Regions from separate parts of the Homo sapiens genome. Here regions 1, 2 and 4 are each linked to region 3. Evidence: promoter capture Hi-C in human tissues and cell types (Jung and others, 2019). All regions are on one chromosome and are shown on one strand. Each heading gives the region's core, a stretch centred on a gene start or on the middle of the fragment in contact. The rest is flanking DNA. Distances are from core to core; before and after follow the strand shown.

What was found. The method cuts DNA at HindIII sites, captures the fragments that hold promoters and counts their contacts. A contact is called where the count stands out against the background at its distance.
Region 1: a contact is called between a fragment that was not itself captured here and the fragment with the promoter of CC2D1A in region 3, in 1 of the 25 tissues and cell types used here (dorsolateral prefrontal cortex).
Region 2: a fragment that was not itself captured here is called in contact with the fragment with the promoter of CC2D1A in region 3 in 2 of the 25 tissues and cell types used here (dorsolateral prefrontal cortex and lymphoblastoid cells).
Region 4: a contact is called between a fragment that was not itself captured here and the fragment with the promoter of CC2D1A in region 3, in 1 of the 25 tissues and cell types used here (lymphoblastoid cells).

What each region holds. Positions count from the first base shown.
Region 1 is chr19:14,385,829-14,393,351 of GRCh38, forward strand. ADGRE5 (adhesion G protein-coupled receptor E5) reads left to right here. Exons shown (of 20, transcript NM_078481.4): 2 at 2,622-2,672; 3 at 2,874-2,990; 4 at 5,096-5,251. Among named protein-coding and RNA genes, the nearest start is that of ADGRE5, 8.1 kb to the left of the region's middle. The HindIII fragment of the contact is 6,584 bases long and covers 947-7,523 here.
Region 2 is chr19:13,413,041-13,420,704 of GRCh38, forward strand. All of the region lies in intron 3 of CACNA1A (calcium voltage-gated channel subunit alpha1 A), which reads right to left. Among named protein-coding and RNA genes, the nearest start is that of CACNA1A, 90 kb to the right of the region's middle. The HindIII fragment of the contact is 6,305 bases long and covers 1,474-7,664 here.
Region 3 is chr19:13,903,838-13,910,962 of GRCh38, forward strand. It overlaps CC2D1A (coiled-coil and C2 domain containing 1A), which reads left to right and starts at 2,364. Exons shown (of 29, transcript NM_017721.5): 1 at 2,364-2,664; 2 at 5,986-6,121. The coding sequence starts at 2,605. BRME1 (break repair meiotic recombinase recruitment factor 1) reads right to left here and starts at 2,280. Exons shown (of 9, transcript NM_001345843.2): 1 at 1,878-2,280; 2 at 1,025-1,076. The coding sequence starts at 1,055. RefSeq lists a silencer at 2,679-2,738. The HindIII fragment of the contact is 13,583 bases long and covers 1-5,009 here.
Region 4 is chr19:14,348,277-14,355,818 of GRCh38, forward strand. All of the region lies in intron 1 of LINC01841 (long intergenic non-protein coding RNA 1841), which reads right to left. Among named protein-coding and RNA genes, the nearest start is that of LINC01841, 12 kb to the right of the region's middle. RefSeq lists enhancers at 38-916, 1,715-2,216, 2,217-2,716. The HindIII fragment of the contact is 8,577 bases long and covers 1-7,542 here.

The DNA of each region.
Region 1 (7,523 bases), core at 2,989-5,488, 480 kb after region 3:
GGCGTGATCTTGGCTTGCTGCAACTCTGCCTCCTTAGTTCAAGCGATTCTCAAGCCTCAGTCTCCCAAGTAGCTGGGATAACAGGCACCCACCACCACGCCCAGCTAATTTTTTGTATTTTCAGTAGAGAGGGGGTTTCACCATATTAGGCAGGCTGGTCTCGAACTCCCGATCTCAAGTGATCCACCCGCCTCGGCCTCCCAAAGTGCTGGGATTACAGGCATGAGCCACTGTGCCTGACCACGCCTTCATTTTTACCTAAAGAAATGAAGATGGCAGGCAGGGCCTGGCGGCTTGTGCCAGCACTTTGGGAGGCCAAGGCAGGTGGATCACGAGGTCAGGAGATCGAAACCATCCTGGCTAACATGGTGAAACCCCTTCTCTACTAAAAATATAAAAAGTTAGCCAGGCGTGGTGGTGGGCGCCAGTAGTTCCAGCTACTCTGGAGGCTGAGGCAGGAGAATGGCGTGAACCCGGGAGGTGGAGCTTGCAGTGAGCAGAGATCACACCACTGCACTTCATCCTGGGCAACAGAGCAAGACTCCATCTCAAAAAAAAAAAAAAAAAAAAAAAAAAGAGAGGCCGGGCGCGGTGGCTCACGCCTGTAATTCCAGCACTTTGGGAGGCTGAGGCGGGCGGATCATGAGGTCAGGAGATCAAGACTACCATCCTGGCTAACATGGTGAAACCTTGTCTCTACTAAAAATACAAAAAAATAAGCTGGGCGTGGTGGCGGGAGCCTGTGGTCCCAGCTACTCGAGAGGCTGAGACAGGAGAATGGTGTGAACCCGGGAGGCGGAGCTTGCAGTGAGCCAAGTTTGCACCACTGCACTCCAGCCTGGGCGACAGAGCAAGACTCCGTCTCAAAAAAAAAAAAAAAAAAAAAGAGAAATGAAGATGGCAGGCTGGGCACGGTGGCTCACGCCTGTAATCCCAGCACTTTTGGAGGCCAAGGCGGGAGGATCACTTGAGGCCGGGAGTTCAAGACCAGCCTGGCCAACATGGTGAAACCCCGTCTCTACAAAAATACAAAAAAATCAGCCGGGCTTGGTGGCGGGTGCCTGTAATCCCAGATACTCTGGAGACTGAGGCAGAGGAATTGCTTGAACCCGGGAGGTGGAGGTTGCAGTGAGCCAGGATCGTGCCATCGCACTCCAGCCTGGGCGACAGAGAGAGACTCTGTCTCAGAAAAAAAATAAAATAAATAAATAAATAAAAGAAGAAGAAATGAAGATGGCAGTAAATGCTCAGGCACACCGGACAGCAGTCATGTGGTTTACTCCCACACACACTACACTGGGGAGTGGGCGCCATCATCCCTATTCTACAGAGGGAAACTGAGGCAGAGAGGCCCACTGTCTGGGATTTGAACTGGGGATGCCTGGCTCCTGTCTGTTTTCTTAGCCACTCCCCACACACCCCAGGTCAGAAGAGCAGCAGCTGGAGCTGAGACCCCCACCAGGCTCATGGCCCTTCCCTACTCAGTTCCTGAAACTCCACCCTCAAGCCGAGCTCGGGAGGCTGAGGCGGGGAGGATCGCTTGAGGCCAGGAGTTCAAGATCAGCCTGGGCAACAGAGCAAGACTCTGTCTGTAAAATAATTTTTTGAATTATTTTTAGGCCGGCCACAGTGGCTCATGCCTGTAATCCCAGCACTTTGGGAGGCCGAGGTGGGTGGATCACGAGGTCAGGAGATCGAGACCATACTGGCTAACACAGTGAAACCCCATCTCTACTAAAAATACAAAAAATTAGCCGGGTGTGGTGGTGGACGCCTGTAGTCCCAGCTACTCGGGAGGCTGAGGCAGGAGAATGGCATGAACCCAGGAAGCGGAGCTTGCAGTGAGCTGAGATCATGCCACTGCACTCCAGCCTGGGTGACAGAGTGAGACTCCGTTTCAAAAAAAAAAATTATTTTTAATTTTTTGGCCTGGCATGATAAATTATTTTATTTTAAAAATTTTGAGTCAGGAAATGTGGCTCACGCCTGTAATCCCAGCACTTTGGGAGGCCAAGACAGGCAGATCACCTGAGGTCAGGAGTTCGAGACCAGCCTGGCCAATATGGTGAAACCCTGTCTCTAGTAAAAATACAAAAAATTAGCCGGGTGTGGTGGCAGACTCCTGTAATCCCAGCTACTCAGGAGGCTGAAGCAGGAGAATCACTTGAACCCAGGAGGTAGAGATTGCAGTGAGCCAAGATCACAGCATTGCACTTCAGCCTGGGCGACAGAGCAAGACTCTGTCTCAAAAAGAAAAAAAAATTTAGTGCACACCTGTGGTCCCAGCTACTTGGGAGGCTGAGGCAGGAGGATCTCTTGAGCCTAGGAATTGGAGGCTGCAGTGAGATATGATTGCACCACTGCACTCCAGCCTGGGTGACCAAGCAGGAGCCTGTGTCAAAAAAAAAACAAAAACAAAAAAACCCGCCCCTATGGGAACAGGGTGACAGACTCTTTGGCTTTGAGCATCTGAGTGGGACATGACATCTGCTCACTCTGAACGACCGTCAGGATCTGAGCCTGAGAGGGGTCAGCATCCTCCTCCCACAAAGTGCATCACCCTTACGCCTCCTTTCCCACCCTGGGATCCCCTCTGACCCCCTTTCCTTTCTCTGTTGCAGCATTCTGTGTCTGGCTGACTCTGCCGGGAGCTGAAACCCAGGACTCCAGGGGTGAGTCTGCTGGGAAGCAGAAAGCACAGTCCACAGCCAGAGCCTGGGGAGGGTCCTGGACCCCCGCCCAGCCCCCTTCAGCCCAGGGAAAGAGAGGGCTCGCGCACGAGAAACTCAGCGCCCTGCCCCATCTCCCCCAGTGCCCCCTTTTTGTGTATTCCCTTACCCCTCACCTTCTGACCGTGCTCCCTGCTCTTGCAGGCTGTGCCCGGTGGTGCCCTCAGAACTCCTCGTGTGTCAATGCCACCGCCTGTCGCTGCAATCCAGGGTTCAGCTCTTTTTCTGAGATCATCACCACCCCGACGGAGACTTGTGACGGTACAGAGGCTTGAGGGCAGCGCAGGGGACATCCGCGATTATGAGGCATTGCCCAGCCAGTGGGGGACAGAGGTTGTTGTGAGGGGCCACAGCCTTACCTTCCAGACTATCATCATGGCCAGAGAAAAGAAAAAGAGGGCAGGCGTGGTGGCTCACGCCTGTAATCCCAGCACTTTGGGAGGCTGAGGCGGGCAGATCGTTTGAGGCCAGGAGTACTCAGAAGACTGAGGGGAGAGGATTATTTGAGCCCAAGAGTTTGAGGCTGCAGTGAGCTATGATTGCACCACTGCACTCTAGCCTGGGCAACAGAATGAGATCGTGTCTCAGGGAGAGGGAGAGGAAGGGGAAGAGGGAGAGGGGGAGAGGAAGGGGAAGAGGGAGAGGGGTAGGGGGAGGGAGAAGGGGAGGGGAAGGGGGAAAGGGAGGGGGATGGGGAGGGAGAGGGGGAGGGGAAGGGGGAAGGGGAGGGGAAGGGGAGGGGAAGGGGGAAGGGGAGGGGGATGGGGGAGGGAGGGGGGAAGGGGAGGGGAAGGGGAGGGGGATGAGGAGGGAGACGGGGAAGGGGAGGGGGAGGCAGAGGGAGAGGAAAGGAGGCAGGAAGGAAGGAAGGGAGGAAGGGAGGGAGAGAGATAGGCCCGGCATGGTGGGTCATGCCTGTAATCCCAGCACTTCAGGAGGCCGAGGTGGACAGATCACTTGAGGTTGGGAATTCGAGACTAGCCTGGCCAACATGGTGAAACCTCCTCTCTATACTAAAAACACAAAAAATTAGCCGGGGGTGGTGGTGGTCACCTGTAATCCCAGCTACTCGGGAGGCTGAGGCAGGAGAATCGCTTAAACCTGGGAGGTGAATGTTGCAGTGAGCCGAGATTGCGCCACTGCACTCTGGCCTGGGCGACCAGAGCAAGACTTTGTCTCAAAAAAAAAAAAGAGAGAGACAGAGAAGGAGAGAAAGAGAAAGAAAAGTAGGCCCGGCATGGTGGCTTACGCCTGTAATCCCAGCAGTTTGGGAGGCCAAGGCGGGCGGATCACCTGAGGTTGGGAGTTCGAGACCAGCCTGACCAACATGGAGAAACCTCATCTCTACTAAAAATACAAAATTAACCGGGTGTGGTGGCCCATGAGCACATGCTTGTAATCCCAGCTACTCCGGGGGCTGAGGCAGGAGAATCGCTTGAACCCGGGAGGCGGAAGTTGCAGTGAGCCAAGACCGTGCCATTGCACTCCAGCCTGGGCAACAAGAGTGAAACTCTGTCTCAAAAAAAAAGAGAAGAAAAGAACAAGAGAGAGAGGGAGGGAGGGAGGGAAAGAAGAGGGAGGGAGGGAAGGAGGGAGGAAGGAAGGAAGGAAGGAAATAAGGGAAGAATATGAAGGGGGAGAAGTAAGAAGTGAATAGGCATGGCTTCCTGGAGAGAGAGAAGCTGGGTGCTCAGGAATCTGGAGTCTGTGCCTCAGTTTACCCTTAAGACTGGGGAGGGGGTACATTCTGGCTATGAGGTTTTTTTTTCCTTTTTTTTTTTTTTGAGACAGAGTCTCACTCTGTCACCCAGGCTGGAGTGCAGTGACCCGATCTCGGCTCACTGCAACCTCCACCTCCTAGGTTCAAGCGATCCTCCTGACTCAGCCTCCTAAGTAGCTGTGATTACAGGCATGCACCACCATGCCCAGATAATTTTTGTATTTTTAGTAGAGACGGGGTTTTGCCATCTTGGCCAGGCTGGTCTCGAACTCCTGACCTCAGGGGATCCACCTGCCTCAGCCTCCCAAAATGCTGGGATTACAGGCGTGAGCCACTGCACCCGGCCGCCATGGGGTTTAAATTTCTACAAAGAGACTGGGGATGGGGATGTGGAGCTTCCTGTCCATCCCTCACCTCAGCACTGTTCACTGTGTCCAAATCTAAGATGCCAGCCAGAGAACTAAGATCAAGTGTGGTCTTCAGGAATGGCTTGCTCCAGCTGCAGCATAGCCTGTGCAGTGCAACTTAAGATTTTTTCCAAAAGATACTAAGCAGCAGGCCCCATGTTGGGGAGTCAGGATGGGGGTCTCTGCCCTGACAGAACTCACATCTTTGGGAGGTGACTCCCTGTCCTGTTGTGTTCCAGACATCAACGAGTGTGCAACACCGTCGAAAGTGTCATGCGGAAAATTCTCGGACTGCTGGAACACAGAGGGGAGCTACGACTGCGTGTGCAGCCCGGGATATGAGCCTGTTTCTGGGGCAAAAACATTCAAGAATGAGAGCGAGAACACCTGTCAAGGTAAGAACCACCCCACGTCCTCTGACTTTCCATCCATGAGGTTTGGGGTCACCAGAGCCATTCTGGCAGCATCCAGAGAGCAGGGCCTTGGTTGTAGGGTCAGTGCCTGGCGTCTGAGATGGGACAGGTGCACATGTACCTACCCCACCACCCCAGAGAGGCAGAGTGATGTGAGGATTAAGGGCTGACTCTGGGACCAGCTGCCTGGGCCAAATCCTGATAACCAAGTGTATGACGTTGGCCAGGATACTTATTCAGAAACCGCTGTCCACATGTGAGATGTGATAACGTTATCATGCTTGTAATTCCAGTGCTTTGGGAGGCTGAGGCGGGAGGATCTCTTGAGGCCAGGAGTTCAAGACCAGCCCATAGCAACATAGCAAGACCCCACCCCTATAAAAGGGGAGGCGAAGGCAGGTAGATTGTTTGAGCCCAGGGGTTCGAGACCAGCATGAGCAAGCGGGTGAAACCCCATCTCTACAAAAAATACCAAAAAAAAAAAAATTAATTAGCCAGGCATAGAGGCCTGCGCCTGTAGTCCCAGCTACTCAGGAGGCTGAGGTGGGATGATTGCTTCAGGCTGGGAGGTCAAGGCTGCAGTGAGCCATGATCAAGCCCCTGCACTCCAGCCTGAGTGACAGAGCAAGATCCTGTCTCTAAAAAAGAAAAAATCAAACCAAAGCTTTCTTGGAGGCAGGATTTTAAAAAATTAAAAACATTAAATGAAAAAAGAACTGGCCGGGCGCAGTGGCTCACACCTGTAATCCCAACACTTTGGGAGGCCGAGGTGGGTGGATCACAACGTCAGGAGTTTGAGACCAGCCTGACCAACATGATGAAACCCCCGTCTCTACTAAAAATACAAAAATTAGCCAGACATGGTGGCACGCGCCTGTAATCCCAGCTACCAGCTACTCCAGAGGCTGAGGCAGGAGAATCGCTTGAACTCAGGAGGCAGAGGTTGCAGTGAGCCAAGATCGCGCCACTGCACTCCAGCCTGGGTGACAGAGTGAGACTCTGTCTGAAAAAAAAAAAAAAAAAAAGATAGGTTGGGTGCCATGGCTCATGCCTGTAATCCCAACACTTTGGGAGGCCAAGGTGGGAGGATCACTTCACTTGAGTCTGGGAGTTCAAGACCAGCCTGGGTAACATTTCAAGACCCCATCTCTACAAAAACAAAAATATAGACAAGGGGAAGAAAGAGTCCTTATCTTTTATTTGTTTTGTTTGTTTGTTTTTGAGACAGAGTCTCACTCTGTCACCCAGGCTGGAGGGCAGTAGTGTGATCTCGGCTCACTGCAACCTCCGCCTCCTGGGTTCAAGTGATTCTCATGCCTCAGCCTCCCAAGTAGCTGGGATTACAGGCGTGAGCCACCATGCCCAGGCTGAGTCCTTATCTTTTAAAGATAAAAACAAAAGTAGCTTTGACTTTTGTTAAATATAGACCTTGGACAGGTTACTTTCACCTTGTTAAAAGGTTAAAGTTACTTTCACCTTGCTAAAAGGGGAGTAATGGCATTTACCTACAAAAGTATTTAACAGGCTGGGCACAGTGGCTCACACTTGTAATGCTAGTACTCTGGGAGGCCGAGGCAGGTGGATCATCTGAGGTCAGGAGTTCAAGACCAGCCTGGCCAACATGGCGAAACCCTGTGTCTACTAAAAATACAAAAATTAGCTGGGTGTGGTGGTGCATGCCTGTAATCCCAGCTACTCAAGAGGCTAAAGCACGAGAATCGCTTGAACCTGAAAGGCAGAGGTTGCAGTGATCCGAGATGACAGCACTGCACTCCAGCTTAGGTGACAGAGCGAGACTCCATTTCAAAAAAAAAAAAAAAATGGCTAGGCGCGATGGCTCATGCCTGTAATCCCAGCACTTTGGGAGGCCGAGGCGGGTGGATCACGAGGTCAGGAGATCAAGACCATCCTGGCTAACACAGTGAAACCCCGTCTCTACTAAAAACACAAGAAATTAGCCAGGCATGGTGGCCGGCATCTGTAGTCCCAGCTACTCTGGAGGCTGAGTCAGGAGAATGGCGTGAACCCGGGAGGCGGAGGTTGCAGTGAGCCGATATTGCGCCACTACACTCCAGCCTGGGCAACAGAGCGAGACTCCATCTAAAAAAAAAAAAAAAAATCACTTAAAAGCTCCTGGCTTGCAGAATGCACTCTATCAGCAATGGCTAATGGGGATTTTATTGTAATTCTGATCTGATGCGCCCCCAGGATGGGTATCCGTAGGGTGCGAGATCAGAGAGCAGCTGCAAGGCTC
Region 2 (7,664 bases), core at 3,376-5,875, 490 kb before region 3:
AGAAGCTTGAGACCAGCCTGGGCAACCTAGCAAGAATCCATCTCTACAAAAAGTTTTTTGTTTTTTTTTTTTGTTTTTTTTTTAGATGGTGTCTCGCGCTCTGTCGCCCAGGCTGGAGTGCAGTGGCGTGATCTCAGCTCACTGCAAGCTCCGCCTCCCAGGTTCACACCATTCTCCTGCCTCAGCCTCCCGAGTAGCTGGGACTACAGGCGCCCGCCACCATACCTGGCTAATTTTTTGTATTTTCAGTAGAGATGGGGTTTCACTGTGTTAGCCAGGATGGTCTCAATCTCCTGACCTCGTGATCCGCCCGCCTTGGCCTCCCAAAGTGCTGGGATTACAGGTGTGAGCCACCGTGCCCGGCCTACAAAAAGTTTTAAAAATTAGCCAGTGTGGTGGCACATGCCTGTAGTCCCAGCTACTAGGGAGGCCAAGGCAAGAGGATCCCTTGAGCCCAGGAGGTCACGGCTGCAGAAAGTGATTATAGTGCCACTGCACTCTGGCCTGAGTGACAGAGCAAGGTCCTGTCTTAAAAAAAAAAAAAAAAAAAAAAAAGGCCAGGCACAGTGGCTCACACCTGTTAATCCCAACACTTTGGGAGGCTGAGGTGGGAGGATCACCTGAGGTCAGGAGTTCAAGACCAGCCCGGCCAACATAGCGAAACCCCGTCTCTACTAAAAAAAAAAAAAAAATTGCCGGGTGTGGTGCCAGGTACCTGTAATCTCAGCTACTCGGGAGGCTGAGACAGGAGAATTGCTTGAACCCAGGAGGTGGAGGTTGCAGTGAGCTAAGATCTTGCCATTGCACTTCAGTCTGGGTGACAGAGCCAGACTCTGTCAAGAAAGAAAGAAAGAAAAAGAAAGAAAGAAAGAAAGAAAGAAAGAAAGAAAGAAAGAAAGAAAGAAAAGGAAGGCAAGGGAAGGGAAAGGAAATAAAAGAAAAGAAAGGAAGGATGGAAGAGTGGAAGGTGAGATAAAAGCAGATAGAAGCCTGGGCAACATAGTGGGACCCCATCTCTACAAAAAATACAAAAATTAGCCAGGTGTGTTGGTGCCCGTCTGTAGTCCCAGCTACTCAGGAGGCTGAAGTGGGAGGATCCTTGAGCCAAGGAAAAAATTGAAACTGCAATGAACTTTGAGTCCGGGAGTTTGAGACCAGCCTGGGCAACATAGGGAGACTCCTTCTCTATAAAAATAAATAAAAATAAATTAGCCAAGCATGATGGTGCATGCCTGTGGTCCCAGCTACTCAGAAGGCTGAGGCAGGAGGATTGCTTGAGCCCAAGAAGTCGAGGCTGCAGAGTAAGCTGTGATTGCGCCACTGCACTCCAGCCTAGGCAATAGAGCGAGGCTCTGTCTCAAAAAAAAAGCAGGCAGATAGCAGCGAAGGACAATGTGCCACATTAAGGAGCTTGGATAGTATCTTGAAAGCAATAAGGGTTTAAAAACCAGGGAATGTTGGAGACACGTGGCACAAGAAAGGTGTCATCTAGATGGACAGAAGACCCTCATGATCCCATGACAGCGACTGGGAAGGGGTAATTAAAAACAAAGAAACACAAGCCAAAAGCATCATCAGGCTGAGAAGAGAAAATGTCTTAGCATGGCTGAGAACACACTCAAGAAATAGAAGCTCTGCCGGGTGTGGTGGCTCATGTCTGTAGTCCCAGCACTTTGAGAGACCAAAGTGGGCGGATCGCTTGAGCCCAGGAGTTAGAGACCAGCCTGGGCAACACGGCGAAACTCCATTTCTACCAAAAGTCCTAAAAAAAATTTGCCCGGGTGTGGTGGCGTGTGCCTGTAGTCCCAGCTATTCCAGAGGCTGAGGGGGGAGGATCGCCTGAGCCTGGGAGGTCAAGGCTACAGTGAGCTGAGATCACACCTCTGCACTCGAGCCTGGGTGAAAAAGAGAGATCCTGTCTCAAAACAAAAGCAAAACAAACAACAACAACAACAGAAGAGAAGTTCTGAGATGCCCATGTAGGACAGCTGGTTACTCATTGGGGGACTTTCCCAAAGCGATTTTGGGGAAGGTAGGAACTACTGGGATGAGGAGGGCATAGGAGATGGGCTGTATTCCCAGGGAGCTTAAAGGAGTCAGGGCAGAGGCTTCAGAGTAGGAATCAGGGCAGGATTTGGGGGATGGAAGATCCTGTCTTCCTCCGAGACAGAGAGAAGGCGGGTGTGTGTGCGGCGCGGAATAGAGGCAGGTGGTGCCGACAAGGAAACGTGCGGAAGGAAGGGAGATAGACGCAATCCCTGCATATTTTTCTCAGCCCATTCTGTGCTCTTCACAACACGCCTGCCTTTATGACCTGGGGGACAGGGTGAGAGGCTTCTGCATGTCAGAGCTAGACTGAGAGGATGTTCCTCCCTTGTCTTCAGAGCTGAGTGGGTCATAACATTTAGAACTAGATGAGGCCAGGCGTGGTGGCTCACACCTGTAATCCCAGCACTTTGGGAGGCCGAGGCGGGAGGATCACTCAAGGTTGGGAGTTTGAGACCAGCCTGGCCAACATGGCAAAACCCGGTCTCTACTGAAAACACAAAAATTACCCAGGCATGGTGGTGCACGCCTGTAGTCCCAGCTACTGGGGAGGATGAGGCAGAGAATTGCTTGAACCTGGGAGGCGGAGGTTACAGTGAGCCAAGATCATGCCACTGCACTCCAGCCTGGTCAACAGAGCGAGACTCTGTCTCAATTAAAAAAAAAAAAAAAAAAAAAAAAAAAAAAGTAGATGGGGCCTCAGAATTCACTGAGGCCAATTTCCTGATTTAACAATGAAGAGAAAACTCCAGAGGGACTGAGGGAGCTGTCCAAGGTCACCTAGCAAGTGAGGGACAGATCTGGGATCAGAAGACCAGTCTCTCACCAGCTGGCCTGTGTCTTCTACTGCACTGTGCTGGTCCCCACAGGCCTCTGAGCGGTCCTCTCTGATGAAGCTTCCTACGCTGATAAAAATATTCTCTATCCATGCTGTCCAATATGATAGCCACCACCCACAAGGGATGATTAAGCACTTGAAGTGCAGCCTGTGTGAGTGAGAAACAGAATTTTAAATTTCGCTTAATTTTTTTTGAGACAAGGTCTTGCTCTTTCACCCATGCTGGAGTGCAGTGGCACAATCACAGCTCACTGCAGCCTTGACCTCTTGGGCTCAAGCGATCCTCCTGCCTCATCCTCCCGAGTAGCTGGGACCACAGGCCTGCACCACCACGCCTGGCTAATTTATTTTTATTTTTTATAGAGATGGGGTCTTCCTATGTTGCCCAGGCTGGTCTCAAACTCCTGGGCTCAAGCAATCCTCTGGCCTCAGCTTACCAAAGTGTTGGGATTACAGGCGTGAGGCACAGCATTTAGGCTGTGTGCGGTGGCTCATGCCTGTAATCCTAGCACTTCGGGAGGCCGAGGCGGTGGATCACCTGAGATCAGGAATTCGGGACCAGCCTAGCCAACATGGTGAAACCCTGTCTCTACTAAAACTACAAAAATCGGCCGGGCGCGGTGGCTCACACCTGTAATCCCAGCACTTTGGGAGGCTGAGGCGGGTGGATCACAAGGTCAGGAGTTCGAGACAAGCCTGGCCGACATGGTAAAACCTCATCTCTACTAAAAATACAAAAAATTAGCTGGGCGTGTTGGCGGGCGCCTGTAATCCCAGCTACTCAGGAGGCTGAGGCAAGAGAATCACTTGAATCCAGGAGGCGGAGGTGGCAGTGAGCTGAGATCGCGCCACTGCACTCCAGCCCAGGCAACAGTGCTACACTCCATCTCAAAAAACAAAAACAAACAAACAAATTTAAAAAATCCAAAAATTAGCTGGGTATGGTGGTGCATGCCTGTAGCTACTTGGGAGGCTGAGGCAGGAGGATTGTTGTGTATATTTTGCCACAATCAAAACAAAACAAAACCCAAAACCAATTTAATATCCACATACGGATATTAATATCCAAATACGTGCAATTGGTGACCGAATTGCACGGTACAGCTCAAAGAATGTTTCCAAGAATGGCTTTTGATGACCACCTCAAAGCTCACAGTCTTTCCAGAGAGACCGTCACCCTCTCCCCAAGGGGGCAGCCTGATGTTCCAGGAGGTGGCAGCCACTCGTCCAGGTCAGAAAGCGACTGCCAAGAACTCACTGGACCTTGGAAGTCAGCCAGCTGCCAATCTGTCAGCTTGCATCCGGAGGGCTGGAGAAGAAGCGCTGTGTTAACTGTGCAACTCTGTGCTGCTGTGCACGCTCGGTATGTGGGTCCCGAGGGGTTTCCACTCCACTGGGCAGGAACAGGGAGGGAAGGCTGTCATGTTTCGGTTTCTGAATGTCCAGCTGCTGTGACAGCAGGAAAGAGTCGCCAAGGGCTGAGACTGGTGGGTGGGCTGGCTCCCCAGATAGAACAATCCACCCAGAGCCCATTCTGTAGGTAGTGAGGCAGCCTCCATCAAACCAGTCGTGGATTCTCTGTTTCTGTAGAGCTCTGCCTGTTTATGCCTCACTTTCTGGGGATGAACTGGCCTGGGCTTCTGCAATAATTTCAGCACAAGGAGTTAAAAGAGAACCATAGTTGCCCAGTGTGGTGGCTCATGCCTGTAATCCCAGCACTTTGGGAGACCGAGGCGGGTGGATCACAACAAGGTCAGGAGATCGAGACCAGCCTGGCCCACATGGTGAAACCCCATCTCTACTAAAAATACAAAAATTAGCTGGGCGTGGTGGTGTGTGCCTATAATCCCAGATATTTGGGAGGCTGAGGCAGGAGAATCGCTTGAACCCGGGAGGTGGAGGTTGCTGTGAGCTAAGATTGCACTACTGCACTCCAGCCTGGGTGACAGAGCAAGACTCCATCTCAAAAAAAAAAAAAAAAAAAGAGAACCATAGCATCTTCCACCAAGACACAGACCTCCATGGCCAGCCCTGTCCCCTGTCAAGAGCTCTCCCGGCCCCATGTTCTTTTCCTTCCTGGCGGTTAGCACAGTAGATGCTCAAAAAGGTATCTGTGACAATATTTGTGTTGCAAATGATGTCAAAACTGTGCAAAACCATGTTGGTTTGAATCCTGGCTCTGCCACTTACTGTTCCTCCTCAGGTGAGTTACTTAACCCCACTCTGTCTTGATTTCTCTGTGGTTTTCCCCATAGAGAGAAGACATTTGTTAATGTATGAAAAGTCCTTAGAACAATGGAATGAAGCTTCCATGAAGTCAGCTTTCTCAGGTCCACAGCAAATATTTGGGGGAGTGGAGGTGGGGGCAGAACCCTTCAGGCATTCAGTACAAGGTAGTGGTGTGTGTACGTGGGAGGCAGTCCCAGATGTCAGAACCTGAATTCAAAGCGCATTCTGGCTGTAGTGGGTTGAACAGTGAACCCTCCAGAAGTTATGTTGATGTCCTAATCCCTGGAATGCTACCTTATTTAGAAAAAATAAGGTATGCAGGTACGATTTAGTTAAGAATATGAGGGCAAGAGTTTATTCCTGGATTTTCTGAGTGGGGCCTAAATGCAGTCATATGTATCCTTATGACACAGCAGAAGAGGGAACTTTGAGAGGGAAGAGGAGAACGCCCTGTCACCACTGAGGCAGAGACTGGAGTGAAGCAACTCCAAATCCAATGGAAGGATCCTCCCCCGGATCCTTTGGAGGGACCCTGGTGACACCTCGATTTCAGACCTATGGCCTCCAAAACAGTGAGAGAATACATTTCCCTTGTTTGAAGCCGTGTGGTTTATGGTACAGTCATGTGCTACATAACGATGTTTTGATATGTTTTGATCAACAGCGGACTGCCTATACAATGGTGGTCCCATATGGTTATAACTGTATTTTTACTGTACCTTTTCTGTTTAGATATGTTTTTTATTTTTTATTTTTTTGAGATGGAGTTTTGCTCTGTCACCCAGGCTGGAGTGCAGTGGCATGATCTCAGCTCACTGCAACCTCCACCTCCCAGGTTCAAGCGATTCTCCTGCCTCAGCCTCCCGAATAGCTGGGATTACAGGTGCCTGCCACCACACCTGGCTAATTTTTGCATTTTTCAGTAAAGAAGGAGTTTCGCCATGTTGGCCAGGCTGGGCTCGAACTCCTGACCTCAGGTGATCTGGAATTACAGGCGTGAGCCACCGTGCCCGGCCTAGATATGTTTAGATACACAAATACTTACCATTGTGTTACAACTGCCTACAGTATTCAAGACAGTAACCTGCTGTGCAGGTTTGCAGCCTAGGTGCAATAGGGTATGCCCCATAACTGAGGTGTGCAGTAGTTTATACCATCTAGGTTTGTGTTAAGTTCTCTACATGATGTCCACACAATGACAAAATCGCCTATTGACTCAGTTCTTAGACTATATTTCCAAGGCTGGAAACAGTGGCTCATATCTGTAATCCCAGCACTTTGGGAGGTTAAGGTGGGAGGCTCTTTTGAGCCCAGGAGTTTGAGACCAGCCTTTGGTAACATAGGGAGACCCCACCTCTACAAGAAATTTAAAAATTAGCCAGGTGTGGTGGCATGCATCTGTGGTTCCAGCTACTCTGGAGGCTGAGGTGGGAGGATCGCTTGAACCCAGGTGGTCGAGGCTGCAGTGAGCTGTTATCAGGCCACTGCACTCCAGCCTGGGTAACAGAGTGAGACCTTGTCTCAAAAGATAAAAAGTATCCCCCAGGACAATGTCAGTTAAACAAGATCTGTAGATTTTGTTATCTAATTAGACCCAGGATAGAATGGATGTGGGACAAGTAAGAATGCTGTTAAAATGAAGAAAATCCTGGCCGGGCATGGTGGCTCATGCCTGTAATCCCAGCACTTTGGGAGGCCGAGGTGGGTGGACCACTTGAGGTCAGGAGTTCGAGACCAGCCTGGCCAACATGGTGAAACCCTGTTTCTATTAAAAATACAAAAATTAGCTGGGTATGGTGGCGGACACCTGTACTCCTAGCCACTCAGGAGACTGAGGCAGGAGAATCACTTGTATCTGGAAGGTAGAGGTTGCAGTGAGCCGAGACTACTACACTCCAGCCTGGGCGACAGAGCGGGACTCTATCTCAACATAAAAATAAAAATAAATTAAAAAATAGAGAAATGATTAAAAAAGAGACTGCTGTTGACTTTGGAATTTTTGGGCAGGGGTCAGCAAACCCCATGGGCTGGCCATCTATTTTTATAAAGTTATGTGGAATTCAGCTGCATCCATTCATTGACCTATTGCACAGAAAGGCTCGCTCTCTCTCTCAAGCAGAAGGAGGCTCACTTCATGGTCTCTTTTCTTAAGTAAAGCAGTGAATTGAGTTGAATACTATTTCCCCCAAATTCGTGTTTACCGAAACCTCAGAATGCAATCTTGTTTTGAAATAAGCTCTTTGCAGATGTAACTAATTAAGGATCTTGAGGTGAGATCATCCTGGATTTAGAGTAAGCCCTAAATTCAATGACTGGTATCCTTCTAAGAAGAGGAAAGGACATAGACACACAGAGAAAAAAGGCAAATGAAGATGGAGGCAGAGATTGAAGTGGATGCCAGACAAAGAATACCAAGGGTTGCCAGGAGCCACCAGAAGAGGCAAGGAAGAATTCTTTCCTAGAGCAGTTGTCAAGGTGGCTCTGCTGACACCTTGATTTTAGGCTTCTAGCCTCCAGAACTAAGAGAAAATAAATTTCTGTTGTTTTAAGC
Region 3 (7,125 bases), core at 1,114-3,613:
CACCACACACTGAGCAGAACTGGGATGAACCCAGGTTTTGGGCCCCAGAGTAAAACACTCAGCCACATACCGAGTGGCCTTGTAGTACATCAAGCATTATTCCAGGGGTCATCTCTGGGACTGGTTCCGCAGGGAGGCTGTCCCGCTGCCCTGAAGCCCGGGGAGGCCTCCTCTAAGCTGTGGGACCCCACCAGAGGCTTGCAGAAGCTCCAGAAAACTTTCACTTTTACTTTTCCTGTATGCCCTCTCCGTTATTTCTATTTTTCTTTCTTTCTTTTTTTTTTTGAGACAGGGCCTCAATCTATCAGTCAGGATGGAGTGCAGTGGTACGATCTGGATTCACTGCAACCTCCACCTCCCAGTTCAAGCAATCTTCCTGCCTCAACCTCCTGAGTAGCTGGGACTACAGGTGCCTGCCACCACGCCCAGCTAATTTCCTTACTTTACATTGTAGAGACAGGATCTCGCTATGTTGCCCAGGCTGGTCTTGAACTCCTGGACTCAAGCGATCCGCCCACCTCGGCCTCCCAAAGTGCTAGGATTACAGGCGTGAGCCACCACACCGGCCTTCTATTTTTCTTACCAGCATGAATTAAATCCTTTTTGTCTTTTTCTTTTTTTTGAGACAGAGTCTTGCTCTGTTGCCCAGGCTAGAGTGCAGTGGCACCATCTTGGCTCACTGCAACATCGGACTCCCAGGTTCAAACGATTCTCCTGCCTCAGTCTCCCGAGTAGGTGGGACTACAGGCATGTGCCACAACACCTGGCTAATTTTTGTATTTTTAGTAGAGACGGGGTTTCACCATGTTGGTCAGGCTGGTCTTGAACTCCTGACCTTGTGATCTGCCCGCCTCGGCCTCCCAAAGTGCTGAGATTACAGGTGTGAGCCACCGCACCCGGCCAATCCTTGCTTCCTTTTAAGGAGGTTAAGGCAGTCGTGTTAGCCAGATCTGCAATAAACAAGCCCACATTCTTCCCACAAGCAGAAGCAGAAATCAACAAGTGTCCATTTGAATGAACGTACCTGAGGTCCGCAGCTTCTTCCTCTTAGTCATTTTATCTTCCCCTTGAGAAATCTGAAAACAAGCAAAATCTCTCATCATTATAAGCAGTCTCTGTCTCTGTTTATATCCAGTGGCTTTGGCTGAGAGCAGAGGTTACCCCTACCTCCACCTCAGCCCATTTGGCTGCCCCAGGGGTCAGATGGCTCCCACTGGGACACAGGATGGGACACAGAGTCACAGCCACTTTGGGCCATGGCCAGGTAGGAATTCAAACCTCCTCCAAACTGAAGATCTTATGCCCAGGACCTGAAAGACAAATGGGCCCTGGGGGGTCCTTATAGATAGCCCCGGGGACCCAGACTCTGGTCCCTAGGATGAAACAGCCTGTGTGAAGCCCCTCCCTCCAGACTGGGGTATCTGGGGGCCCTTCCAAGGACACTTGAGGACTCTCCAGGGGCCTCTGGAGACCAGCCTGGCCAATATGGTGAAACCCCCTCTCTATTAAAAACACAAAAATTAGCCTGGGCATCGTGACGCACACCTGTAATCCCAGCTACTTGGGAGGCTGAGACAGTAGAATTCCTTGAACCCATGAGGCAGAGGTTGCAGTGAGCCGAGATCGCTCTACTGCACTCCAGCCTGGGCGACAGAGCGAGACTCCGTCTCAAAAAAAAAAAAAAAAATTAGTCAGGTGCGGTGGCACACACCCGTAATCCCAGCTACTCAGGAGGCTGTGGTACAAGGCCAGGAGGCAGAGGTTGCAATGAGCCAAGATCGTGCCACTTTAAAGGGGACAGCTGGGTCCTTGGAGGGGAAAGAGCTGCCATAGGCCGGTTTCTCCCAGCCTTGGGGGCGAGGCAAACCAGAACGGACCTGGGCCACAGAAGTCGTTGAGGACCCTCTGTCCTTATCAGAAACGAGCTCTGCCTGGATCAGTTGGGAATAAGTCGCTTGAATTATCCGCGTTACTCTTTTTGGAAAAAATAAATGGCCAAATTGGCCCTCACAGAACGCTGGAGGCCTCGAGTCCGGAGGTGAAAGATGGAAAGGCCTGAGGGTGGGCGCTGTAGACCCCGCTCCCGGTGACAAGCCCCACACTGACACTACGCCGACCACCGAGAAGTGAGGACTCCACAGGCCGAGAGCCCACGTGAAGCCGGAGCCCGTCGGTGACTGACAGACGCTCTGAACCCCACAGATGTCGCCGCCCCTCACACCTGCGCGCGCTCTGCCTCTTTCCCGCGCCCCGCGAGGTCCCGCCCCGCGCATGAGCGACGCAAACACCGCCCTCGCAGCCCGCGACAGTCAGCACCGCCCCAGCCAGGCGCCTGCGCGCCCACGCACTACCTGCCGGGAGTTGTAGTTTCGGCTCGGCAGACCCGGCGAGCCCAGTGGCCGCGCTCCGGTGCGGCGGCGCCCGAGGCCCGAGGCGGAAGTGGGACGGCCAAGCAGGGAAGCGAGGGCTCGGGATCGACGGCCGCGGGGCGCCGACGAGGAGTGCAGGACTCAGGAAGGGCGAGTGCGCGGCGACAGAGCCCGGGGAAGGAGGCAGGGCAAGGCCGGGCTTGGGGGCAGGTGGTCCGGGCATCCAGCCTTGAAGATGCACAAGAGGAAAGGACCCCCGGGACCCCCGGGCAGAGGCGCCGCGGCCGCCCGCCAGGTGAGTTTGCGCCCCACGGCCCGACCTGGGGATCCCTCCCCACCCCCGTCACTCGCTCAGGGAAGGGCCCCACCCCCCAGGGAAGCCCGATCTCCGCCCCACAGGTAAGCCCCGGTCCCCGCCTCCCCCCAGGTGAGGCTCCAACACCACCCAAGTGTGGCCTACTGGCCTTGGCTCCCCAGCTCCTGGGGCCCTGCCCCGGGTTCGGGGCCACCTGTTGCCACAGCTGCTCCAGTCGAGGAGGGGCAGTCCTCGGACTTGACACATCAAACCCTTGCATCAGTCGGGCCATGTCAGACTCTTTTTATTCCATTGTACAGATGAGGACTTTGAGACTCAGAGACGTGAAGACATCTGCCCAAGGTCATAGGGATTAACAGCTTGGCCAGGGCTAAGCACAAATCCAGGGCTGCAGCCATAAGCTTATGGCACTGTGGCTGGACCCCTTCTCACTCTCCCGACTTCTTTGCCCCAGGCACCAGATAGTTTGATTTTTCTCAGTTTTGATGGAAGGAGCCCAGGACATAGCTTGGTGTTCAGATATTAGAGTCTGGCTGACCTGAAGTTCCCTCCTGGCCTCTGTACATCGGACACTTGACTTTACAGCTCTGAGCCTCAGCTTTCTCATCTGTAAAATGGAGATCTCTATAATCCCAGCACTTCAGGAGATGGAGGCGGAGGCAGAGGTGGGAGAGTCATTTGAGGCCAGAGTTTGAGACCAGCCTGGGCAAAAGCAAGACCCCCGTCTCGACAAAAAAAGACTAACTGGGCATGGTGGCATGTGCCTGTAGTACTACTACTTGGGAGGCTAAGAAGGGAGGATTGCTTGAGCCCAGGAGTTCAAGACCGCAGTGAGCTATGATTGCGCTACTTCTGCTCCAGCCTGGGTGACAGAACAAGACTCTTTCTCTAAAATAAAGATAAAAAATTAAAAATGGAAGTCCGGGGTGGTGTCTCACACCTGTAATCCCAGCACTTTGGGAGGCCATGGCGAAACCCCATCTCTACTAAAAATACAAAAATTAGCTGGGCATGGTGGCGGGCACCTGTAATCCCAGCTACTCGGGAGGCTGAGGTGGGAGAATCGCTTGAACCGAGAGGCGGAGGTTGCAGTGAGCTGAGATCGCGCCACTGCATTCCAGACTGGGTGACAGAGCAAGGCTCCTTCTCAAAATAAATAAATAAATTCCTTCTGAAAATAAATAAATAAATAAAAAATTAAAAATGGAGACCTCCAAGAGACCCTACATTACAGGACAGTTGTAGAGAGTCATTGAGATAGTTTATGGAAAGTGCTAGAACATAGCACTCAATAAATGTTACTATTATCATTATTACTAGTTGGTGGAACCATACATAATTGCCAATATTTGGCCATTTTTTACCTACAGGAAAGGCAATTTCATATGGTTAAACACGATGTTATCACATCATGATTGGTCATTAGCCAAGATAGGAAGACGGGTCTGCATGGCAAACCTGCATTGTGGTTAGGGGTTCTTTTTTTGTTTGTTTGTTTTTGAGACAGAGTCTTGCTCTCTCGCCCCAGGCTGGAGTGCAGTGGCGCAATCTCGGCCCACTGCAACCTCCGCTTCCCGGGTTCAAGCGATTCTCCTGCCTCAGCCTCCCGAGTAGCTGGGATTACAGGCATGCGCCACCATGCCTGGTTAATTTTGTATTTTTTAGTAGAGACGGGGTTTCTCCCTGTTGGTCAGGCTGGTCTGTCTCGAACTCCCCATCTCAGGTGACCCGCCTGCCTCGGCCTCCCAAAGTGCTGGGGTTACAGGCGTGAGCCACCGTGCCCGGCCTAATTTTTGTATTTTTAGTAGTGATGGGATTTCACCATGTTGGCCAGGCTAGTCTCGAACTGCTGACCTCAGGTGATCCCCCCACCTTGGTCTCCCAAAGTGCTGGGATTACAAGCGTGAGCCACTGCACCTGGCCCTGTCGTCAGGGCTTCTAATTGCTCTTCTTTTTTTTTTGGAGACAGAGTCTTGCTCTGTTGCCCAGGCTGGAGTTTGGTGGCGCAATCTCAGCTCACTGCAACCTCCACCTCCCAGGTTCAAGCAATTCTCCTGCCTCAGCCTCCCGAGTAGCTGGGATTGCAGACACCGCCAGCACTCCCAGCTAATTTTTGTATTTTTAGTAGAGACGGGGTTTCACCATGTTGGCTAGGCTGGTCTCGAACTCCTGGATTACAGGCGTGAGCCACCGCATGCAGCCATCATGCTCTTGAAGCCCAACCTTCCCACACAGCCCCTCTGCTGAGGATGCTGGAAAGAAAAGCCCAAGTGTACAGAGTAGCTTTGCTTTGGGCAAAGTGTGGAGCCTGCTTCCTTCCCTCCTTCCCTCCCTCCCTCGCTTCCTTCTTTTTTTCCTTCCTTCCCTCCTTCCTCCCTCCCTCTCTCCCTCCCCGGCTCCATCTCTCTTTCTTTCTTTCCTTTCAACAGGGCTTTACTCTGTTGCCCAGGCGGAGTGCCGTAGCACAGTCATGGCTCACTGCAGCCTTGATCTCCCCAGGCTCAAGTGATCCTCCTGCCTCAGCCTCCCGAGTAGCTGGGACCACAGGCACACAGCACAACTCCCAGCTAATTTTAAAAAGTTTTTTTTCCTGTAATCCCAGCACTTTGGGAGGCCGAGGCGGGCAGATCATGAGGTCAGGAGATCGAGACCATCCTGGCTAACAAGGTGAAACCCCGTCTCTGCTAAAAATACAAAAAAAAAATTAGCCGGGCGTGGTGGCGGGCGCCTGTAGTCCCAGCTACTCGGGATGTTGAGGCAGGAGAATGGCATGAACCCCGGAGGCGGAGGTTGCAGTGAGCTGAGACTGCACCACTGCACTCCAGCCTGGGTGACAGAGCGAGACTCTGTGTCAAAAAAAAACAAAAAACAAAAAACTTTTTTTTTTTTTGTAGAGTTGGGGGTCTCACTGTATTGCCCAGGCTGGTCTGGAACTCCCAGACACAAGCCATCCTCTTGCCTTGGCCTCCCAAAGTGCTGGGATGACAGGCGTGAGCCACTGCGCCCAGCCAGGGGCCTGCTTTTCCCACTGAACTTGGCCCAGCAGCACATCATAAGTGTGGATTCAGATCAGAGAGCTGGGTCTCTTGCCCTTTGCCCCAGGTTGAACTGTGCCAGAGGGCCTGGCCTATCTTGGAACACCTGTTCTGGGCTTGTTCCAGCCTCCTGGCACTCCCCAGGGAAATGGCTTTCCCTGGGAGACCTTGTTTCCTTCCTCCCAAGGGGACTCTCTGGCCATCATGGCTGCCTCTAGCCATGTGGTGAACCAAAGGTCTGACTGAACCCTTGCTGTTCCCCTAGCTGGGCCTGCTGGTTGACCTCTCCCCAGATGGCCTGATGATCCCTGAGGACGGGGCTAACGATGAAGAACTGGAGGCTGAGTTCTTGGCTTTGGTCGGGGGCCAGCCCCCAGCCCTGGAGAAGCTCAAAGGCAAAGGTGAGATGGTTAACACACCCTCAGAACATTTTCTGATCTCCTGCAAGTGGTTCGGGCGCAGAACTGGGGGCACTGGGTAGGTAGGGGAAAGAAGACAGAGAAGACCCCTGTTCTCCTGGAGCCAATGATCTGGGTAAGAGAGTCAAGATCGACTCTGAGGCCGGGCACGGTGGCTCACGCCTGTAATCCCAGCACTTTGGGAGGCCGAGGCAGGCAGATCATGAGGTCAGGAGATTGAGACCATCCCGGCTAACACGGTGAAACTCTGTCTCTACTAAAAATACAAAAAAAAAAAAAAAATTAGCCGGGCGTGGTGGCGGGCGCCTGTAGTCCCAGCTACTCAGGAGGCTGAGGCAGAAGAATGGCGTGAACCAGGGAGGCGGAGCTTGCAGTGAGCCGAGATCGCACCACTGCGCTACAGCCTGGGCGACAGAGCAAGACTCCGTCTCAAAAAAAAAAAAAAAAAAAAAAAGATCAAGTCTGGACCGAGACTGAGAGTTGGAATCCGAGCTCTGCCACTTACTGGTTATGTGACTTGATGAGTCACATCATGTGCTTTGGCCTCAGTTTCACCATCTGTAAAACTGGAATAATAACCATGTTATAGGAGTTAATCTGGAGTCCATAAGTATTTCACCCAGGGCCCCCTCACACACAATAAGCTCATGTCAGCCAGGCACATTGGCTCATGCATGTAATCCCAGCACTCTGGGAGGCCAAGGTGGACAGATCACTTGGGGCCAGGAGTTCGAGACCAGCCTGGCCAACATGGTGAAACCCTGTCTTTACTAAAAATACAAAAATTAGCCAAGCTTGGTGGCGAACACCTGTAATCCCAGCTACTTGGGAGGCTGAGGCATGAGAATCGCTTGAATCCAGGAGGCAGCAGTTGCAGTGGGCAGAGATTGCGCCACTGCACTCCAGCCTGGGTGACAGAGCAAGATCCTGTTTCCAAAAAACAAAAAAGAGAGAAGCTTCATTCAGGCATGAACTACTGTGCTGTT
Region 4 (7,542 bases), core at 2,765-5,264, 450 kb after region 3:
GCCCAGCTCTAACCTATATAAAGTTAAGGAAGAACACGAACATGGTAAGTGCGTCTCCCCCTCCCCCAGGCATGGAGCTGCTGAACTAGTTTTGGGAATGGAATCAGAGCACGCGTGGACAGATGGAGGGAGCCCTCAGCTGCCCGGACTCTGCAGCCCACCACCCCCACTCTTCTCAGATCCCCCTCGTTTGACCAAAAAGCCCCTCTACCACGAGGTAGGACCCCAAGCAGGATCCCAGGGACTGGCGTCCAAATCCGGGCCAGGAACTGACCCCAGCAGCCAGACCCGGGACGGGGCTAAAGCTCGGGTTTTTCCACCTCCGCTTCCCGCCACTGCAGCGCGGGGAGCGAGCGCCACCTGTGGGCCTCCAAGGGGAGGTGCGTGCGACTCCCGGGGAGGTGGACGGTCGCCCCCGTTTCTCCCCAACCCGGGGGACCTCGGGCCCTCCAGGAGTTTCGGAAACAGCTCTCATCTCTTAAATTCTCCTCCACAACCCACTTTTCCCGGCTGCCATTTCCCAGCTAGAACTCGTCGTCCATGCATTCATGCAACATTTATTGAGCACCTACTGTGTGTATTGAGCAAACCTAGATCATTGCTCTAGGTTTAGAGTACACAGAAGACAGAATGGGGCTGGCTCAGGCCTGTAACCCCAGCCACTCAGGAGGCTGAGGTGGGAGGATCACTTGAGCCCAGAAGATGGAGGCTGCTGTGAGTCATGATGGCACCATTGCACTCCAGTCTGAGAAACACAGCGATACCCTGTCTCTAAAAGTAAAAAGAGGCCAGGTACAGTGGCTCGGCCAGGCACGGTGGCTCACGCCTGTAATTCCAGCACTTTGGGAGGCCAAGGCGTGCGGATCACGAGGTCAGCAGTTCGATACCAGCCTGACCGACATGGTGAAACCCCCTCTCTACTAAAAATACAAAAATTAGCCAGGCGTGGTGGCGGGCGCCTGTAATCCCAGCTACTCAGGAGGCTGAGGCAGGAGAATTACTTGAACCCAGGAGACGGAGGTTGCAGTGAGCAGAGATCGTGTCACTGCACTCCAGCCTGGGCGACAGAGCAAGACTCCATCTCAAAAAAAAGAAAAAAAATGGAAACAAAACAGATAAACCTCCATGCCCTTCTGGAGCTTACAGTCCAAGGGAAGAGAGAAGAGAGGAGGAAGAGGACAACAGGCTGCAAGATCATTGCTGATGGCAGTAAGTGCAGTAAGTGTTCTGAAGGAGAAAGTATATACAGGGATGTCACTGAAGCACCTGCTGTGGGTAGAGTGGGTGGAGTGGGCTCTGAGGAAGTGACGCTTATCCTGAGGCCTGAGAAGAATAAAGCCCCAGCCATGCCGAGTCTGGAGCCAGGATTTCCAGTAGAAGGCGCAGCCAGCGCAAAGGCCCTGTGGCAGAAAGGAGCTCGGGTGTTGAACAGTGGGAAAGGAGGTCACAGTAGCCAGAGCCGAGAGATGAAGAAACAGGTGGGCTGCGATGTCAAGGCCTATTTTGGAGACAAATCTGATCTCTCACTCCCCCTGAGGAGTCACCTCCTAAAAGCCCGAGGGGAGAAGAAGGCTCACACTGAGCTAAAAGCCCTCCAACACCACCAGCTGCACCCTTCTCGTCGCCCACCCACAGATATGGTGTCGCCCACAGAAAGAAGCCCTGGCCCATGCACTGTCCCCCTACCCACCCCACCACTCTCCCAGGACTTTGCCTCTGACCATATTGACCCCAATTATGCAGTTAAGGTGCACGTGGTCGGCTCTGCTTGCAAAGTCCCCTTCTTACCCCCTGCCCATCTCCCTGGGAGACACAGGGAACCATGCAATGTGCCTTCCAAGACCAATGCTTGGCCAGGCGCGGTGGCTCATGCCTGTAATCCCAGCACTTTGGGAGGCCGAGGTGGGCGGATTGCCTGAGGTCAGGAGTTTGAGACTAGCCTGGCCAATATGGTGAAACCCCGTCTCTACTAAAAATACAAAAATTAACCGGGCGTTGTGGCAGGCACCTGTAATTCCAGCTACTCGGGAGGCTGAGGCAGGAGAATCACTTGAACTTGGGGGGCAGAGGTTGCAGTGAGCTGAGATTGTGCCACTGCACTCCAGCCTGGGTGAAAGAGTGAGACTCCGCCTCAAAAAAAAAAAAAAAAAGTTGCCAGCCCCACACACGGACCTCAGCCCGGCCTGCCCCCTTTGCCTTCATACTCCCGAGAGCAGTCTCCCCATGTGGCCTGACAACCCCAAAAGGGACTATGCAGGGAGGAGATCTGGTTTCATGAACATTGCTCTTGGGATCCCTGCCTGGGGGTGGCCACGAGAGAGGCTGTGGGTCTTGCGCAGCCACAGAAGGGGAGCAGAGCCCTGTCCCCGACTCCCCGCCAGTGCAGAAGGGGTACACCCTCTCTCCACAGCCTGGCCTCAGTTCTGGGGACTGCCTGGCTATTGGGGAGAGGGCAGAGCCTCTTGGAGCTTGTAATTAAGGCTTCAGAGGCACCGACTTAATTACTACCTTGTGAAGGGTTAATTACCCCTAATTGTTCAGGAATCAGGCAATTTTTGTGCCTTCAGAGAATCAAAATATTTTCCCTTCCAGAAGTGCCTCCTCCCTTTTGCTTTTTCTAATTTCCCTGCAAGGAGGGGCACGATGGGCTGGGTGGGGTCCGGAGGATCGGAAACCACCAGTCTCCCCTCAGAGAACACACTTGCCGGGCCTGCCGCAAGCAAGAGCGGGATTCAGAGGAGAGAGGTTCCCAGCCAGCTCAAGGCAGGAAGACTTCCTGGAAGAGGTGGCCATGGGTTGGTCTTAAGGACCCCAAGTCAACCTCCCAGGTAAGCCAAGGGCTCCTAGAATTCTGTGCCACCTAGAGGGTAGCAGGGCCTGGGGAAGCTGGAGCTGATGGTTTCAGGCATGGGAATGCTGCCTGGAGTCTCAGTTTCCTCACTTGTTAAATGGGGCCAGGGCTGCGATGAGCCAGGCAGAGTGAGCAGGGAATAAAGGCTGCCCTCGGAGATGAAATCCTGGTGGGCACCGAGAAGACATCACTCATCTGCAGCTCATCTAGCTTGTTGCTCCTCTGCCTGGGTTTGTAGTAATGTAAGAATTAGGGCCCACCCACTTCCCAGCCCTCATCTCCCTGCCTTCCTCCTAACCCCCTTGATGGGCTTTGAACACACCGCACTGGTTCCCAACTCAGAACTTTTGTCCCTGGTGTTCCCCCTGCCTGGCTTACTTTCCCCCCTGATGGTGCTGTGTCTGAGAAGCTTTTGTCCTGAAATGTCACCTCCTCCAGGGAGCCTTCCCTGACCACCCTCTCTCCCCTGAACCACTCCTTCCTGGGAATTCTCCAGCTTATCACACTTCTTCTTTTTTTTTTTTTTTTTTTTCAGGTGGAGTCTCGCTCTGTCGCCCAGGCTGGAGTGCAGTGGCGTGATCTCTGCTCACTGCAAGCCCCTCCTCCCAGGTTCACACCATTCTCCTGCCTCAGCCTCCTGAGTAGCTGGGACTACAGGCACCCGCCACCACACCCGGCTAATTTTTTGTATTTTTAGTAGAGACGGGGTTTCACCGTATTAGCCAGGATGGTCTCCATCTCCTGACCTCGTGATCCGCCTGCCTCGGCCTCCCAAAGTGCTGGGATTACAGGCGTGAGCCACTGCGCCCGGCCTTCTATCTCTCTTTTGCTCTCTCTCTCTCTCTTTTTTTTTTTTTTTTGAGATGGAGTCTCACTCTGTCACCCAGGCTGGAGTGCAGTGGCATGATCTGGGCTCACTGCAACCTGTGCCTCCTGGGTTCAAATGATTCTCAGGCCTCAGCCTCCCGAGTAGCTGGGATTACAGGCGCACACCACCACACCTGGCTAATTTTTTAATATTTTTAGTGGAGATGGGGTTTCACCATGTTGGCCAGGCTGGTCTCGAACTCTTGACCTCAAGTGATCTGCCCACCTCGGCCTCCCAAAGTGCTGGGATTACAGGCATGAGCCGCTGTGCCCGGCCCTTGCTCTCTGTTTTTACAGAGACAGGGTCTCACTCTGTTGCCCGGGCTGGAGTGCAGTGGTATGCTCATAGCTCACTACAGCCTTGAACTCCTGGCCTCAAGCGATCCTCCAAAGTAGCTGGGACTATAAGCACGCACCACCACATCTAGATAATTTAAAAATAGTTTTTTGCAGCGATGGGGTCTTGTTATGTTACCCAGACTGGTCTCAAACTTACGGCCTCAAGAGATCCTTCTGCCTCTGCCTCCCAAAGTGCTGGGATTACAGGCATGAGCCACTGCCCCTGGCCACACTTTTACCTCTCTTATGTAAATTGCCTTGTTTAGATCCTGGCTGGGTGACTCAGGGCCCAGTATCCTCATCTGTGAAATGGGGGTGATGACAACAGCCTCCTCAGAGTTCCAGACCTGACTGTGGTGGCCGTGGGGGTCCGGTGGGTTGAGACCTTCTTCTATGGCCAAGGAGTGGACTTGGGGGAGCAGGGCAAGTGAGCCAGGAGCAGGGGCCAGAGGGCCGGAGCAGGGCAAGTGAGCAAGGCTCAAGTGATGGGTCAGTCAGAAGGGGTTAGAGGACTGACATGGTGTCTCACGCCTGTAATCCCAGCACTTTGGGAGGCTAAGGCGGGCAGATCACTTGACATCAGGAGTTCGAGACCAGCCCGGGCAACATGGTGAAAGCCCGTATCTACTAAAAATATGAAAATTAGAGGCCGGGCGCGGTGGCTCATGCCTGTAATCCTAGCACTGCGGGAGGCCGAGGTGGGTGGATCAGGAGGTCAGGAGTTTGAGACCATCCCAGCCAATGTGGTGAAACTCTGTCTCTACTAAAAATACAAAAATTAGCTGGGCATGGTGGCATGCGCCTGTAGTCCCAGCTACTCAGGAGGCTGAGGCAGGAGAATCGCTTGAACCCGGGAGGCAGAGGTTGCAGTGAGCCTAGATTATGCCACTGGACTCCAGCCTGGACTCCACTGGCAGCCTCACAGAGGGAGACTCCATCTCAAAAAAAAAAAAAAAAGAAAGAAAGAAAGAAAAAAAGAAATTAGCTGGGCATGGTGGCGGGCACCTATAGTCCCAGCTACTCAGGAGGCTGAGACACAAGAATCACATGAACCCAGGAGGTGGAGATTGCAGTGAGCAAAGATCGCACCACTGCACTCCAGCCTGGGTGACAGAGCGAGACTCTGTTTCAAAAAAAAAAAAAAAAAAAAAGGGCGTGGTTAGAGAGGAGGCAGACTTGGGAACAATGGGTATACTGTTATGACCTCATTTTATAGATGGGGAAAGTGAGGCCCCAGAAAGGTGAAGTCACTTAGCGAGGGCACGCAGCCCTCTAGTGGGGGAGCCATAATTCATTCCCATACTGGGCAGAGTCCCCCACACAGAGTGGGGGAGGGGATGGCAGGGGAAGGCGGAGGAGGGAATGATGGGTGGAGAGCTGTTTGGCAGAAAGGTGAAATACGGTTTTGATTCAGCTGTGTTGGAGGACATAGTGACTCTGCCAAGATATAGTAGAGATTAAATTAGGCGCGCTGGCTTACGCCTGCAATGTCAGCATTTTTGGAGGCTAAGGTGGGCCGATCACTTGAGGTCAGGAGTTTGAGACCAGCCTGGCCAACATGGCTAAACTCCGTCCCTACTAAAAATACAAAAATTAGCCAGGCATGGTGGCAGGTGCCTGTAATCCCAGCTACTCGGGAGGCTCAGGCAGGAGAATTGCTTGAACTGGGAGGCAGAGGTTGCAGTGGGCCAAGATCATGCCACTGCACTCCAGCCTGGACCAGAGTTGGTCCTGAAAAAAAAAAAAAAAAAAGAGAGAGAAAGGAGGAAGGAGGGAGGGAGAGAAGAAAGAAGAGAGTGAGCAAGGGAGGGAGGGAGAGGTGGTTGATTGGGGAAGACTATTCTAGTTGCAAGTAAAAAATCCAAACCCAAACTGGCTTAAAGAAAAAATAATGATAATTTATTGGTTTGTGTCATTGAAAAGTTTAAGATATGTTGGCTTCAGGGACAGCTGGATTCACGGGCTCAAACAAAGTAATCTGGCTGGGTGTGGTGGCTCATGCCTGTAATCCCAGCAGTTTGGGAGGCCAAGGCAGGAGGCTTGCTTGAGCCCAGGAGTTTGAGACCAGCCCGGGCAACATAGTGAAACCTCATCTCTATAAAAAAAAATTAAAAAATAAGGAGGGAGGATCACTCGAGCCTGGGAATTGAGGCTGCAGTGGAACCATGATCGTGCCACTGCACTCACACCTGGGTGACAAAGTGAAGCCCTGCTTCAAAAGAAGAAAATAATAATTCCTGGGCTCCCTCTGATTGGACAGTTTGGGGTCACATGTCATTTAGGAACCAATCACAGTGGCTAGAAAGGATAGAATGAGTCCATGAGCCACTCCTGTTGATGAGGGTGGGGATGGCCCTACAGACCTCAGTAGACAAAGAGTGTAGGCAAAAGTGACAATTTATTCAAGAAACATTTATTTATTTATTTATTTTGATTTATTTATTTTTTTGAGACACAGTCTCGCTCTGTTGCCCAGGCTGGAGTGCACTAGCGCAATCTCAGCTCACTGCAACCTCCGCCTCCTGGGTTCACACAATTCTCCTGCCTCAGCCTCCCTAGTAGCTGGGATTACAGGCACGCGCCACCACACCCAGCTAATTTTTGTATTTTTAGTAGAGACAGGGTTTCACCGTGTTGGCCAGGCTGGTCTCGAACTCCTGACCTCAGGTGATGTGCCCGTCTTGGCCTCCCAAAAGTGCTGGGATTACAGCCCTGAGCCACTGCACCTGGCTGAGAAACATTAATTGAGCACCTGTGGTGTCCCTGGCCCTGTTTTAGGTGCTGAGGATACAGCAGTGAACAAGACAGAAAAACCCCTGCCCCCATGGGACTGACACTCTATGTAAATTCATGAATTAAAATATTAGAAGGTGATGTGCTATAGAGAAAAATAAAATAGAGGGGAAAGGTTAGAAAGGACTGGGGGAAGGAAGCTAAAATTTCAAATATGGGGGTCGTCAGGGAAGTACTCACTGAGGAGGTGACCTCTGAGCAAGTATGTTAGGCAGACAAAAGAGTGAGAGGGGCCAGGCGCAGTGGCTCATGCCTGTAATCCCAGCACTTTGGGAGGCCAAGGCAGGCAGATCAGTTGAGGTCAGGAGTTCGAGACCAGCCTGGCCAACATGGTGAAACCCCGTCTCTACTAAAAATACAAAAATTAGCCGGGCGTGGTGATGCCCACTTGTAGTCCCAGCTTTTCGGGAGGCTGAGGCAGGAGAATGGCTTGAACCCAGGAGGCAGAGGCTGTGGTGAGCTGAGGTTGCGCCACTGCACTCCAGCCTGGGCAACAGAGCAAGACTCTGTCTCAAAAACACAAAATAATAAAAAAATAAAAAAATATCTGGGGGAAAGGTGTTCCAGGCAGAGGGAACAGCGCATGCAAAGGCTGTGAGGCTGGACTGGGCCTGGCATATTTATTTGGGGAACAGTGAGGAAGCTGGGGTGGCTGGAGCCAAGTGAATGAGGGGAAGAGAGCTGGAGGTGAC